Regions from separate parts of the Homo sapiens genome. Here region 2 is linked to region 1. Evidence: promoter capture Hi-C in human tissues and cell types (Jung and others, 2019). All regions are on one chromosome and are shown on one strand. Each heading gives the region's core, a stretch centred on a gene start or on the middle of the fragment in contact. The rest is flanking DNA. Distances are from core to core; before and after follow the strand shown. Region 1 holds the start of ASPG (asparaginase). Region 2 overlaps LOC124903395 (a long non-coding RNA gene).

Region 1 (6,590 bases), core at 3,927-6,426:
ATAAATACATAAAAATTAAAAAGATGTCCACATCCCAATCCCCGGTACCTGTGGGTGTCACTTCATATGGAAGTGTCTTTACGGATGTGATATTAGGGGTCATGGGGCGGGAGGTGGCCCTGGACAATCCAGGTGGGCCCTAAACGCCCTCTCGTGTTTCCTCACAGGTGGAAGGCCACAGGGCACGGGGAGGGGAAGGCCATATGACGACAGGGCAGAGCGGCCCTTGGAGATGCTGGCCTGGATGACTGGAGTGATGCGGCCACAAGCCAAGGATTGCAGCAGCCACCAGACACTGGAGGTGGCAGGGGTGGCTCCTCCCGCAGAGCGTCAGGACGGAGCGGTGCCCTGCAGCACCTTGGCTCAGCCCGGGGAAACCCCTCTCAGGCCTCGGCCTCCAGAACCCAGAACGAACTTCTGTGATGTTCAGCCGCCCGGCACAGTGGCCACAGGAAACAAAAAGTCACTCTCCACTCATCACGGCGGGTGAAGCTGGGGTGCCTTATGGGAAAGGTGGAGGGGGCATATCTGGTTTGGTTTTGTGGGACATGCTCACGTTGTGCAAGGTCACCTCCAGCTGCTGCTGACTCATGTGGGGGAACAGCTTCCAGAAACTTCCAGGAATGCTGCAGAGTGGTAGGCGTGGATATGGGCCCTGCTGTCCCTGCTGGGGGCATGTGTGGGCACCACAGGCGAAATCAGCCAAAGACAAGACTAAACTCTCTTGGTGTCCTCTTCTCTCAAGCAAAACACTCCATATGTGCTTTTGCAGTGGTTTTTATGGCTCACACCTGTAATCCCAGAATTTTGGGAGGCTGATGCAGGAAGATCATTTGAGCCCAGGAGTTCAAAACCAGCCTGGCCAATTTCTTTCTTTTTTCTTTTTCTTCTCCTTTCTTCCTTTTTTTTTTTTTTTTTTTTTTTTTTTGAGGCAGAGTCTCACTCTGTTGCCCAGGCTGGAGTACAGTGATGCCATCTCGACTCACTGCAACCTCCACCCACCCGGCTCAAGCAATTCTCCTGCCTTAGCCTCCCGAGTAGCCGGGATTACAGGCATGCACCACCACACCTAGCTAATTTTTTATTTTTAGTAGAGACGGGGTTTCGCCATGTTAGCAAGGCAAGTGAACCACCCGCCTTGGCCTCCCAAAGTGTTGGAATTACAGGCCTGAGCCACCATGTCTGGCCAAACGTTCCTTTTTCAAACCTATACTGTCGCCAGTAAAGTTTTCTTACCAACCTGCGAGTGGACCACTTTCCAACTCTGGGGCTCCAGCACTCACCCCGCAGTCAATGTGTTGTACGTCAGCAGCCATTCTAACAGGTATGTAGTGGCATCAGTTTTTTTTGTTTGTTTGAGACAGGGTCTCACTCTGTCACTCAGGCTGGAGTGCAGTGGCGAGATCTCGGCTCACTGCAACCTCCACCTCCTGGGTTCAAGCGATTCTCATGCCTCAGCCTCCCCAGTAGCTGGGACCACAGGCATCTGCCACCACATCTGGCTAATTTTTTTTTTGTATTTTTAGTAGAGACAGGGTTTCACCATGTTGTCCATGGCTGGTCTTGAACTCCCGATCTCAAGTGATCCACCCACCTCAGCCTCCCAAAGTGCTGGGATTACAGGTGTGAGCCACCGCGCCCAGTCAGCTGGGGCAATTTCTTTTGTTATTTTAAATAAACACCAGCTTTCAGCCGGGCACGGTGGCGGGCGCCTGTAGTCCCAGCTACTCGGGAGGCTGAGGCAGGAGAATGGTGTGAACCCGGGAGGCAGAGCTTGCAGTGAGCTGAGATCGCGCCACTGCACTCCAGTCTGGGCGACAGAGTGAGACTCCATCTCAAAAAAATAAAAATAAATAAAAAATAAACAAACACCGGCTTTCACACCTAACTATGATTTTGTAACTTGTATTACTTTTCTCAATGAGGGCCCTCCAAAAGCTTCAAGGGCTGCAGAATCTGAACCCTCCAGCCCTGCCTGGAACCTCTTCCTTGGCCCATCCAGGCAGGTGCCTGAGTTTGCTGGTGACTTGGAAACTCCTCAGCCCCCTGCCAAACACCTGGAAAGGAGGCTTTGCTCTCTAAGACAATGGGCCCCACTGTCACCAGCGAAGTCAAGCTTAGGCTTAGAAACTTGTGAACGTGTAGCACCCATTCAGGAAGGAGGTCCAGGCCAAGGGCACAGACGCCACTGCAGTAACCAAGAAGCCATGGGCATCACTCCACTGACACTCTCGACTGCTGGGACCCGTGTGGTCACCGGGCAGGGAGCTTCTCTCAGCTGCCTGGCCCCAGATCTCTGCCCTCCCTGCTGTGCCTGCAAGGAGCCGGGCTCAGGAGGGACTTTGGGACAGGCCGGCAAGCAGGTGGGGTTCCCAGTTTGACATAGGAAGTCTTCAAGTTTCTCGGGTGTACAGAACGTGGCCACTGATGCCAGCTTGGGCTTGGGGTTATCAGCCGTGTTTGGATTCGCTATGCCCCTTGACCTGTGATAGCTTCAATGAACTCAGAGAAGGGATGGGTCAAGGGGCGTCCCCACTGGCATCACCTCTGCCCTCCCTGAACTCTGGCAGGGCTCCAGGTGTGCAGCGTTCCACCCACAGGTCACTGTTTACCAGCAGGCGCAGAAGCCGTTCCAACAGCGACAATCAAACAGCTTTACTAGGGCAAAGCCACCACTCCCCTCTCACCTCCCCAGGGAAGGCCAGAGCCCACGTCAGCAGTGTGGAGGGAGTAAATCATTGACGCCTGACAGTCTGGCTGCTCCAACCTCACGAGGGGTTGGGGGAGCCCATTCCTGCAGGTTCCTGGAAGTGGATGCCCCACATGGGTCAGCTAGCAACAGCTGGGGGTGACCTCGCAGCCACACGAGGACGGGCTGCTGAGCAGAAGCCAGGACCCCAGTGCACAGAGCACCAAGGGATCTCAGAAGGCTGCTTCAGGTCTGAAGACTGACGCCCCACACCCAATTTCCAGCCTCCAAGTCTCTTGTTTCCCACCCAGACACAGGACCTCACAGCCTCTTTCAGAAATGCGGTGCACGCGTGTGAGTGCACCCACAGGCTGCTGCGGCGAGCACGCGGGGGCCAAGCGAGACGGGTGTGTGGTGGGGTTACAGAGTCCACCTGCCCCTGCAGCTCGGACCACTCAAGAACTACATGTTGAGCTCAACGAAACTGCAGTTGGCCACACTCCAAGCCTGAAGGGGTAGCGTCAGGGGCGTCGGACGAGGCCCCACACAGAGTCCCCAGGTCCTGTCCCCACTCGGGGGCAGCTCTGGCAGGCTCCGGCCCTGCTGGGCTCCCCACTCCTCTTTCCTGCACCTTGCAGGGCTGCTCCTGGCCTGGCCCTCTCCCATCTTTGTCCTGCAGGCCTTGTGTCCTCAGAGAAGCCCTCCCTGGGCTGCCTCCAAACTCCACACCATCCACACACCCAGCTCAGACCCTGTTATCAGCCCACAGCCCCTACAGGGCCCTGGCAGATCCTGCCCCTGGGACTAGCTCCTTAATGCATGCCATCCCTTCAATGGCAGCCTCTCTCTCTAGCTTGTGAGGGCCAAGCACAGGAATTGTGTCACTCTGTGTCAGTGGAGTGTCACACAGGGGCGTTTGCCAAGCTGTGAATGACTTTGTTCCATTCACAGGCAGAAGGAGAAGTGCAGAGGAGGCTCCCGGCAGCCTGGACAGCCACGTTCTTGGGGACCTGAGTCCCTCGTGGACGAGCCCCACTAGGCTTTGTCTCCTGGGCTGGGCGCAGAGTGGGCCTCCAGAGGGGTCTGCACCGGCCACAGTGTGGTGGGTGGAATCTGAGAGCACCGACAGAGTGCTGGTGGCTTCTGAGCAGCCACTTCAGCAGAAAGGGGTGGCCAGGAGGGGCAGCTGCCAGGGAACAGGCCGTGAGAGGGGGTGGGGATAGGAGGGGCGGGGAAGTGGTTGGCAGATGGGCAAGGGACAAGAGAATGTTCTGGTCATGCCAGGGGAGGCCCTGGGCTCTGGCAGAGCCGGAGAGGGTCCCAGCCGTCCCAGGAGAGAGAGCTGCGCTGGACACAAGCAGGAGTGTGGGGAGGGGCCAGGGCAGCAGGGAGTGGGAGGAGGAGGAGTGGAAAGGGCTCCTGAGGGAAAGGCAGGCAGTGGCCCATGGAGGGTCGCAAACAGGTTCAAGACGGGGCGAGGGGGCTGTCCTGGCCCCAAGGGAGGCCCCACATCACAGCAGAGCCCATCTGGGGGCCCCAGGCAGTGTCCTGCCCTCCTGGGGAACACCCAGGCATTCTGGAGGCTCCAGTGCAACCGTCCTCTCCCCATCCCGGTGGCCTCAGGCTCCCCAAGCTACCATCCTTCCTGTGCCCAGCCCAGGCTGGCAGCACTGTGCTGGAGTACCACAGAGCTCGGTGCCTGTCCCAGGCCCTGACCCCACCCAGGCAGAACTCAGTCCAGACGCAATCGCTGGTCTCTGGTCAACCAGGTCCACACAGGGGCAGAGGAAGCAGGGCTCTGAGGCCACCTCGGGTGTGAACACGTGCGTCCCCGCAGATGCCAGGTAGCCCCAGTATCGTGCCAACCACTGCTGCCTGACCAGGACCCCAGGGGACGGGGACACCCTCCTGGGTGTCGCAGTTGAGGGGTCCTCGCAGCCTCCTAAGCCTTCTCCAGGGCAGCCTCCTAAGCCTTCTGTGTCCAGAGCAGGAGCGGCAGGCCAATGCCCTGGGGCCCTCCCGCCCCATATTCCAGGACTTCAGGACGCTGGCCCTCAGGGGCGCAGCGGCAGCACAGGGGGCCTGGCCCCAGGGTCGCAGGGCGCTCCCGGGAGCACCGCGACGGCGAGAACCCACCGCAATCTCCTCTGTCCAGGTCGGGGCTCCATGCGTGGGGACGCCGGTGGCCGGAACCGGAGGAGAGCGACCTCAGCCCGCACCCCCCATCCAGGCGCGGATTTGACTCCCCAACGACCCCCGTGGGTGCAGGAGGGTCCGAGGCTCCCGGTCGCGGCCAGGTCCAGAGGCCTACCCCGCCCAGGGTCTCGGACTCACCGCCGAGCTCACTCCGCATGCCAATGGTGCCGCCGGTGTAGACGGCCAGCAGCCTCCGCTCGGGCCCCACCGCGCGCGCCATGCCGGACCGGGGACCACGGGAGTGGACGGGGGTGTGCAGCGGGGACGCAGGGCCTGCGGGACTCAGGGACTGCGCGGAGGAGGCCCGGGGCGCCGGGGGCAGCCTGGGAGGGCGGGGCCGGCGGGGGCACCCACGGGGAGGGGGCGGGAGTGGAGTCTGCCCGGGAGGGTGGGAGGCCCCGCGGAGGCGGGCGGGGGCAGGACCTGGGGGCGGGGTGGGTCCCGGGGACTGTCCAGGGTCGGAGAGAGAGGCGGGGCCTGGCGGGGTGGGGGCGGGGCCTGGCGGGGTGCGGGGCGGGGCCTGGCGGGGTGCGGGGCGGGGCCTGGCGGGGTGCGGGGCGGGGCCTGGCGGGGTGCGGGGCGGGGCGCGGCCTTGGAAACGTGTAGGAAGAGGTGAGGTCTGTGAGGGCGGCAGGGGGAGCTCCTGCCTGGGCAGGAGATTGGCTGGGGCCTGCTTGGGGCTGGGGAGCGCCTGTCCAGGGACTAGGGGGCAGCCAGAAAGGCAGCGACAGGGGTGGGGCGGGTCCTGAGCCATCCTGCGGCCATTGGCCCTCCGTGGCGGCCCTGGGTGTTTGAGTAGCTGTGACATGTGGTGCCTGGCAGACCGTAGTGCCCGAGGCCCTCCACGACCTGAGCACAGAGGGGGCTCCGTGTCCTGTCAAGCAGCCTCCACAGCCCCGGGGCTCCAAGGCCGGCATTGCTGCCCAGGCCCTGCTGTCCCTCCTTTGGATGGCCAGAGGCAGGCAGAGCTGGACCAGCCCCTCCACATGTGCCCATTCACACACCATCCAAGAGAAGAGCCCGAGGGGCCCCCAAGGGCTGGAGCGGGACAGAGCAGGAGTATGGCCTTCTTGGACAAACACCGCCATTTTAGGTTCCCTTTGATTAAAAAGCTGCCTAAATCCAGCCCAAAACACATCAGCCCAATAGCTAATGTCAGCACGACCGTAAACCACAAATAACATCTCCAATCAGAAACATGCCAACCTCGAGATAACCTCCCCTCCGACCAGAGACATTCCAAGCCCGCAATAAACTTTCCCTCACATAGAAACATTCCGAGCCTGCGATAAGCTCCCCACTTCCTAAACCCTTAAAGATCCTTAGTCTGTAGGAGAGATGGCTCCTGACCAAAATCGGCCAGAAGTCCCTTTCAGGTTTATTCTCCAAAATAAACCTGCCTTTGTTGAGCCGCTTTTCATGTTTCTTTCCTCTTTCTTTAACTCCTACAGAGCCCACCCTCCTTCACTCCCATGAGAGCCCAGGAGGGCAGGGCACTGGCGGGTGCAGGGTCCCAGGAGGGTCCCAAGCTGCAGGCTTGCTCCCAGGTGGACAGAAGATCCGCGGCCTCCTCGTCTCCTGGCACCTTGACTGCCTGGGGCACTGATGCACTTTGGTGGGAAACTGTGTGTTGCCCCCAGAAGGCACCAGCATTTGACACTGATTCCATAATAAAAATTATTATTATTCTGTTGCCTGGAGGGCA
Region 2 (6,374 bases), core at 3,098-5,597, 440 kb before region 1:
CAGAGAAATGGCTGATTCTGGGACTGGGGCAAGAAATATACAAGATAAATCTATAGAAAGGAAGTACTAAAAAAAATCTCCAAATCCTACCTTAAAGGGACACAGGAGCCAACTGGAAGAGCTCCCAATGGCCAAAGCCAGAACAACTTGAGCAACAAAATAAAGTAGGGTTGAGTCATGACCCAAAATATGACACAGGTGTCCATGAGTCAGTGCTGACAGACATCAGTGACTGAATAAACTACATGGGAAAGAAGAGACAAATCACCATTGCCAAAGGATTCCAAATAATTTACGCAGATACCTTGCCCTCAAGGAGGGGACCGCGAGTCCCCCTCCTCAGGTGTGGGCTGTGCACCTTGACTTCCTTCCCAAGAGTGTGGTATGGAAGGCAGGTGATAACTGTTGAGGGGGGTGATGACTATCTGGGTGGTGGTGGTCCGGGGTAGGGGGAGCATCAAAGAATTTCCCAAGACAGTTGTAGATAAAGAAGGGCAGATTTATTAGAGAAAATAGGAAAATACGTTGCGAGGAGGAAACAGGCGGACTCAGCAGAAGAGGAGCTGACTGCTGGGGTTCAAAGGCTTGCTGGAGGTTTTATAGGATGGTTCTTGGGCTGCAGAGGGCTGCGTGCGGTACTGATAACGCCAGGGTTGCAGGGAGCTACCTTGCATTTTTCTATCAGCTGAGGGTCTGGTGATAGCTGGGTGCAGGAAGATTGTGAGTTATCTGTGCAGGAGGGCTGTGTGTCCTGCACCGTGAAGAAAGGCAGACTTATACCTCTTCTGCTGCTTCTTTTTGCTTCCCCTGCTCCCTGCAGCCTGACTCCTTTTCCCTAATTAGGACCCCACAGTGACTTCACAGCGGAGAAGACTGACAGCACGACCTCAGCCGGGGGCCAAGGTCAATGTCAGCAAGGACAGCCTTGTTGAGAGCACGCGCCCTGGGTAGGATGTGACGCCAGTGGAGTGCTGCCGCCGCGCTTTCTTTCCCCTGGCGCATAACACCAGTCACTCATGAGAAAAATAGCACGTTCCAAGAGTGGGGCATCCTGCAGAATTTCTGACTGGTACTCCTAAAAACTGTCAAGGCCATCAAAAACAAGGAAAGTTGGAGAAACTGTCACAGCCGAGAGGCACCTAAGGAGACATGCCGACCAAATGTCATGTGGTGTCCTGGACGGGCCCTTCCTGGGACAGGGCAAGGACATTAGGGAAGAATCAGGGAAATCTGAATGCACCATGTAGAACAGGGCCTTTAGCCAATACTTGTGTTTCAATACTGGTTCATCAGTGGTGGCAGATGCACAGCACTAATGTAAAATTTTAATAATAAGGGAAGCTGTGTGAGGGCTATATGGGGACTCTGTGACATCTTCTCAATATTCCTGTCAAAACTGTTCTAAAAATAAAGTCAGCTTAAAAAACTGTCAGCAACATGCACGCAGCTCTGGAGAATGGGGAGCAGCCCTCATGAAGTCGTGTGCATGAAAGGTGAAGACTTCACATCAACGAAAGCCATTCACAGGTCTGTGTTTGGAATCCCAGGGTTTGGAAAACATGCATCTCATTTCCTCTGGAGGTGAAATGTGAGTTGGTCCTGCTGCCCACATGCATTCCCTCAAGATGCAGAAAGCCATGCCTGGCTGTCATTCTGCTGATTAGGCCCGGGCAGGGTTGGACCGCTCCACATCGGGGCAGCAACCCAGGTGACCACACGGCAGGGATCTCCTCCACGGTTGTGTGGGAAAGCCCTGGAGACCGAGGGACGTTCAGCAGCATCATGGCCCCCACATCTCAGGCAGGCGGCATGGGGTGCTAAGCCCCTTCCTCCCCTTTAAAAAGAAGAATCATGGTTTTGTTTTGTAAGAAAGGTCCGGCCTCATATTTAAAAACTGAGTAACATAGGAGACCAAGAGGAAGTCAAAAGCATGCTCCAAACTCTCCTTCCAGATAACCAACTTTGTTCAATCTCACAAAGGACAACTTTCCTCCAAGGGTCCAGTAGAACTGGAAAGAGGGACAGGAGTAGAAATAATGTTAGTCACGGGCATCGTTTATCAGAAAGAGCATCTCCTGTGTTTGAGTTTCACAAGAACAAACCAAGGTGAAGCCGAAGGAAACACTTGAAATAAAGGTTTCACCTCACAGAGACTCAAGCACTGGAAGACCTGCTAAAAGCTACCGTGAAAGAGCTTGCGAACGAAGGGAACTCCACGTTGGTAAACCAGATGTTCCGGGTTCCAAGTTACATTTTTACTCCCAACCCCTCCATGCTTTCTAACGTTATTATTTTTTGGACGTGATCAAAGTTTGTAACATTTAACTTCTGTTCCTCACACCGTGGTTTCCATTGTCACTGTCACCCGGTTTAACATTCAGATGATTCCAGAGCTTGTCCCCAGCCTTTGCTGTGGTTCCTACCCCCTTGAGTTTTGTCTTCATCAGCGTTTGTCACCTGGATTTTGTCATCTGAGGTTGCTGGAGAGGCCCCTGTGCTGGCTCACCGTGTAATTTATCATCCTACCTGGAGCACTTGACTTCTACTTTTTAGACTTTTTATCTGGAAATGATTTCAAACTTAGACAAAGTCACAAAAGCAAAAAGAGTGCAAGGAATAGCCATATACCCATTGCTCAGATTTACCTATTATTCTATCCCATTTGCTGTATCATTTGTGTTGTAAGAACAGGAGTATTCTCTTACATAACCTCAACACAGTCATCAACCTCATACATCTCCATTAGTATTAATAAGAAGTATTTTTACATGATATGCCATCTGTATTCCAATGTTGTCAGATGTTCTAATAATATCCTGTAATTAATGAATTAAAAGATGAGGTCTAGCTCTGTTACCAGGCTGAAGTCTAGTTGTGCAATCATGGCTCACTGCAGCCTCAACCAACCAGGCTCAAGCGATCCTCCCACCTCAGCCTCCTGAGTAGCTGGGACCACAGGTGCGCACCACCACATCCAGCCTCTACTAATGTCATTTGTAGCCTTTGTAGCACCCTTTCCCTCTCAAACTTGAGCACTTTTTAGAGCAAGAGTTTGCTATGGACAACTATGCTGGTGATGCAGGACAGGCAAGCCGCAAAGTGGGGCTCAGCCTGAGAGGGTTCTTGGCTTTGCCCAGGAAAGAATTCAAGGGCAAGCCAGAGGCAGAAGAAAACAGCTTTATCGAAGCTGCAGTGTCACAGCTTCAGTGGTGTTATAGCTCCAAGACTGCACCTGCTGGGCCGGGCTACCCCATAGGCAAAGAGGGGAAGCTCAGGGCTGTTCTGCTCATATTTATACCCACTTTTTTTTTTCTTGAGACAGAGTCTCACTCTGTCACCCAGGCTGCAGTGCAGTGGTGTGATCTCAGCTTACTGCAACCTCCGCCTCCCAGGTTCAAGCGATTCTCCTGCCTCAGCCTCCCAAGTAGCTGGGATTACAGGCATGTGCCACTGCACCTGGCTAATTTTTGTATTTTTAGTAGAGATGAGGTTTTTCCATGTTAGCCAGGCTGGTCTCGAACTCGTGACCTCAGGTGATCCACCGGTCTTGGCCTTCCAAGGTGCTGGGATTACAGGTGTGAGCTACCGCACTTGGGTTCCCACTTTTAATTGCATGCAGATTAAGGAGTATGCAGGGAAGGGGCAGTAACTTTTGGATCATTGGGTACCATGGAAAGAGGCAGTAACTCCTGGGCGTTGCCATGACAACAGTAAATTGACATGGCACACTGGTGGGCAGGTCTGATTGAAAGCTGCTTTCACCCCAGCACTGTTTTAGCTAGTCCTCAATCTGGTCCAGTGTCTGAGCCCTTCCTCTGGAGTCAAGCCCCACCTCCTGTCTCACTGGGACAATGGGAATCTCGGGCTGCCACAGGCCCGGGAGATCCCCGCTTTCTCCTCCTGTGGGCGCTGTGTATTCTTCAAGTTCTTGCCTACCTAAGAGTCTGTTTCCTTTATACGTCAAGTCAGGATTATCGGATATAAAATCCTCAAGTCAAACATTTTTTCCATCAGAACTCTGTAGCTACTGTGTTCTGATATTTAAGTGATGCTCCGTCTGATTATTTCCAACCCCCTGAAGTTTAACAATGGCAGCAGCATACATCGTGCTGTTTTGCTGGCCCCACTCCTGCCCCCAGAATGTGTGCTCTGCAGAGCTGCAGATCCAGGCTTAAGGAACATGTATTTTGTGATAGCCCAGAGTCTATTTTTTTTTTTTCAGGCTTATGTGTTTTGTTTTCTTCTTCAGGAACATCAATTGTGCATGTGTTATATCTTCTTTGTTTGAATTCTGTACTTACCGTCTTATTTTTACATTGTAGAAACTTTCACTTTATTGTGTGTGACTTCCTCAAGCTCAACACTTTATCCTTTTAAAGGCATTTTCAGCCATGTTTATTTTTCTCTTTGTTCAGATGTGGTTATGGTCTCCAATCAACTTCTCTCTTCCATCTCTTTTCTGGGCTCCAGTGGCTCACACCTTCTGTTATCTTATCATCTCTTCTTTGAAACCACACATCTCCTTTTTGAGCGCTTCTCCCTTTTAGGAGATGAGGTTGTCTTGAAGCAGAAGAAACCTTTTTGTCTGAACTTTGCCTGTGTTTCCTTGGGTCGTTCTCCCAGGGGTGAATGTTTTTCATTTGTCTTTTATGTATAATTCCTTCATTTTAATTTTTGAAGTATTTATGCATAGGTGTGAAGTCACTTCCTAATAGTAACTTGTCTTTAACAGGGGAGGGCTATCTGCTGGGGGTGTGGGAGAGAGTGTATGTGTGTGAGTGTATGTGTGTGTGTGTGCATGAGTGCGTATGTGTGGGAGTGTGTGGGATGTGTGCATGAAAGTGTGTGCAAAAGTGTGTGGGTGCATATGTGAGCATGTGTCTGAATGTATGTGTGAGAGAACGTGTGTGTGAATGTGTGTCTGAATGTGTGTGTGTGAGAAAGTGTGTGTGAATGTGTTTGTGAATGTGTGAGTGTGGTGCATGAGTGCATATATGTATGTGAGAGTGTGAATGTGTGTGGATGTATGTGAAAGTGTGTGTGAAAATGTGAGTGTATGTCTGTGAAAGTGTGAATGTGGCTGTATGTCTGTGAAAGTGTGTGTGAATGTGGGTGTATGTGTGTGAACGTGTGTGTATAAGTGTGAATGTGTGTGGGTGTGTGTCTGAATGCATGTGTGTGGGTGTGTATGTGTGTGTCTGAATGTGTGTCTGAATGTGTGTCTGAATGTGTGTATGAGTGTGAACGTGAATGGGTGTATGAGTGTGAATGTGTGTGGGTGTATGTGTGTGAAAGTGTGAAAATGTGGGTGTATGTCTGTGAAAGTGTGTGGGTGTGTATGTGTGTGAATGTGTGTGTAAATGTGTGCATGACTGTGAATGTGTGTGGGTGTATGTGTGTGAATATGTGTGTATGACTGTGAATGTGTGTGGGTGTATGTGTGAATGTGTGTCTAAATGTGTATGTGTGTGGGTGTGTATGTGTGTGTCTGTGTGTCTGAATGTGTATGAGTGTGTGTCTGAATGAGTGTGTGGTGTATGTGTGTGAAAGTGTGTGGATGTATGTGTGAAAGTGTGAATGTGTGTTGTGTGTACGTGTGTAAGTGTGTGAATGTGTGTATGTGTGTGAAAGTGTGTGTGCATGTGTGTGGGTGTGTGTGAGAAAGTATGTGTGAATGTGAGTGTGTGTATATGAGTGTCTGTGTGTGAATGTGTGTCTGTGTGTATGTGTGAGAGAGTGTGAATGTGTGTGGGTGTACGTGTGTCTGAAAGTGTGTGACTGTGTGTGAGTGTGTGTGAATTGTGTGTGTGGCCATTGCAGGCCACGCCTCCACTCTGGTTTATTTTCTCAAGGGCTCTCTCACAATATCTGTTTTCCTTTCCTGGTGGACACACACCCCTTCAGCCTTTAGTGCAGGCCGTTAATTGTGGCTTATAGATGCTTCTAGACAACAGCCCCTATGTCATCAGCTGATAATCACTATTATCAACGTCTCAAATGTCTTCTAGAGTTTCTTTAGGAAATTACAAGCAAATCTGAATCTATTCATGTTTCCATGTTTATGCAAAAGGTAGCATAGGTAGCATAGTACACCTGTTCCTTTGCAGGTGCTGTGAAGTTTGCCTCTAGACACTGTGCTGTGAGGAGTAGGCCTCTACATGTGCCGCTCGCTGGGCACGTGAACGAGAGTGTTTATAGACTGCTGTAGAGTTTGCCACTAGACACTGTGCTGTGAGGAGTAGGCCTCTACATGTGCCGCTCTCTGGGCACGTGAACGAGAGTGTTTATAGACTGCTGTAGAGTTTGCCTCTAGACACTGTGCTGTGAGGAGTAGGCCTCTACATGTGCCGCTCTCTGGGCACGTGAACGAGAGT

Evidence for each region. The method cuts DNA at HindIII sites, captures the fragments that hold promoters and counts their contacts. A contact is called where the count stands out against the background at its distance.
Region 2: a fragment that was not itself captured here is called in contact with the fragment with the promoter of ASPG in region 1 in 3 of the 25 tissues and cell types used here (dorsolateral prefrontal cortex, heart left ventricle and lymphoblastoid cells).

What each region holds. Positions count from the first base shown.
Region 1 is chr14:104,084,286-104,090,875 of GRCh38, reverse strand. ASPG (asparaginase) reads right to left here and starts at 5,176. Exons shown (of 16, transcript NM_001080464.3): 1 at 5,024-5,176. The coding sequence starts at 5,105. The HindIII fragment of the contact is 41,970 bases long and covers 1-6,590 here.
Region 2 is chr14:104,526,167-104,532,540 of GRCh38, reverse strand. LOC124903395 (a long non-coding RNA gene) reads left to right here. Exons shown (of 2, transcript XR_007064361.1): 2 at 821-2,856. Among named protein-coding and RNA genes, the nearest start is that of C14orf180, 50 kb to the left of the region's middle. RefSeq lists a silencer at 523-723. The HindIII fragment of the contact is 6,901 bases long and covers 897-6,374 here.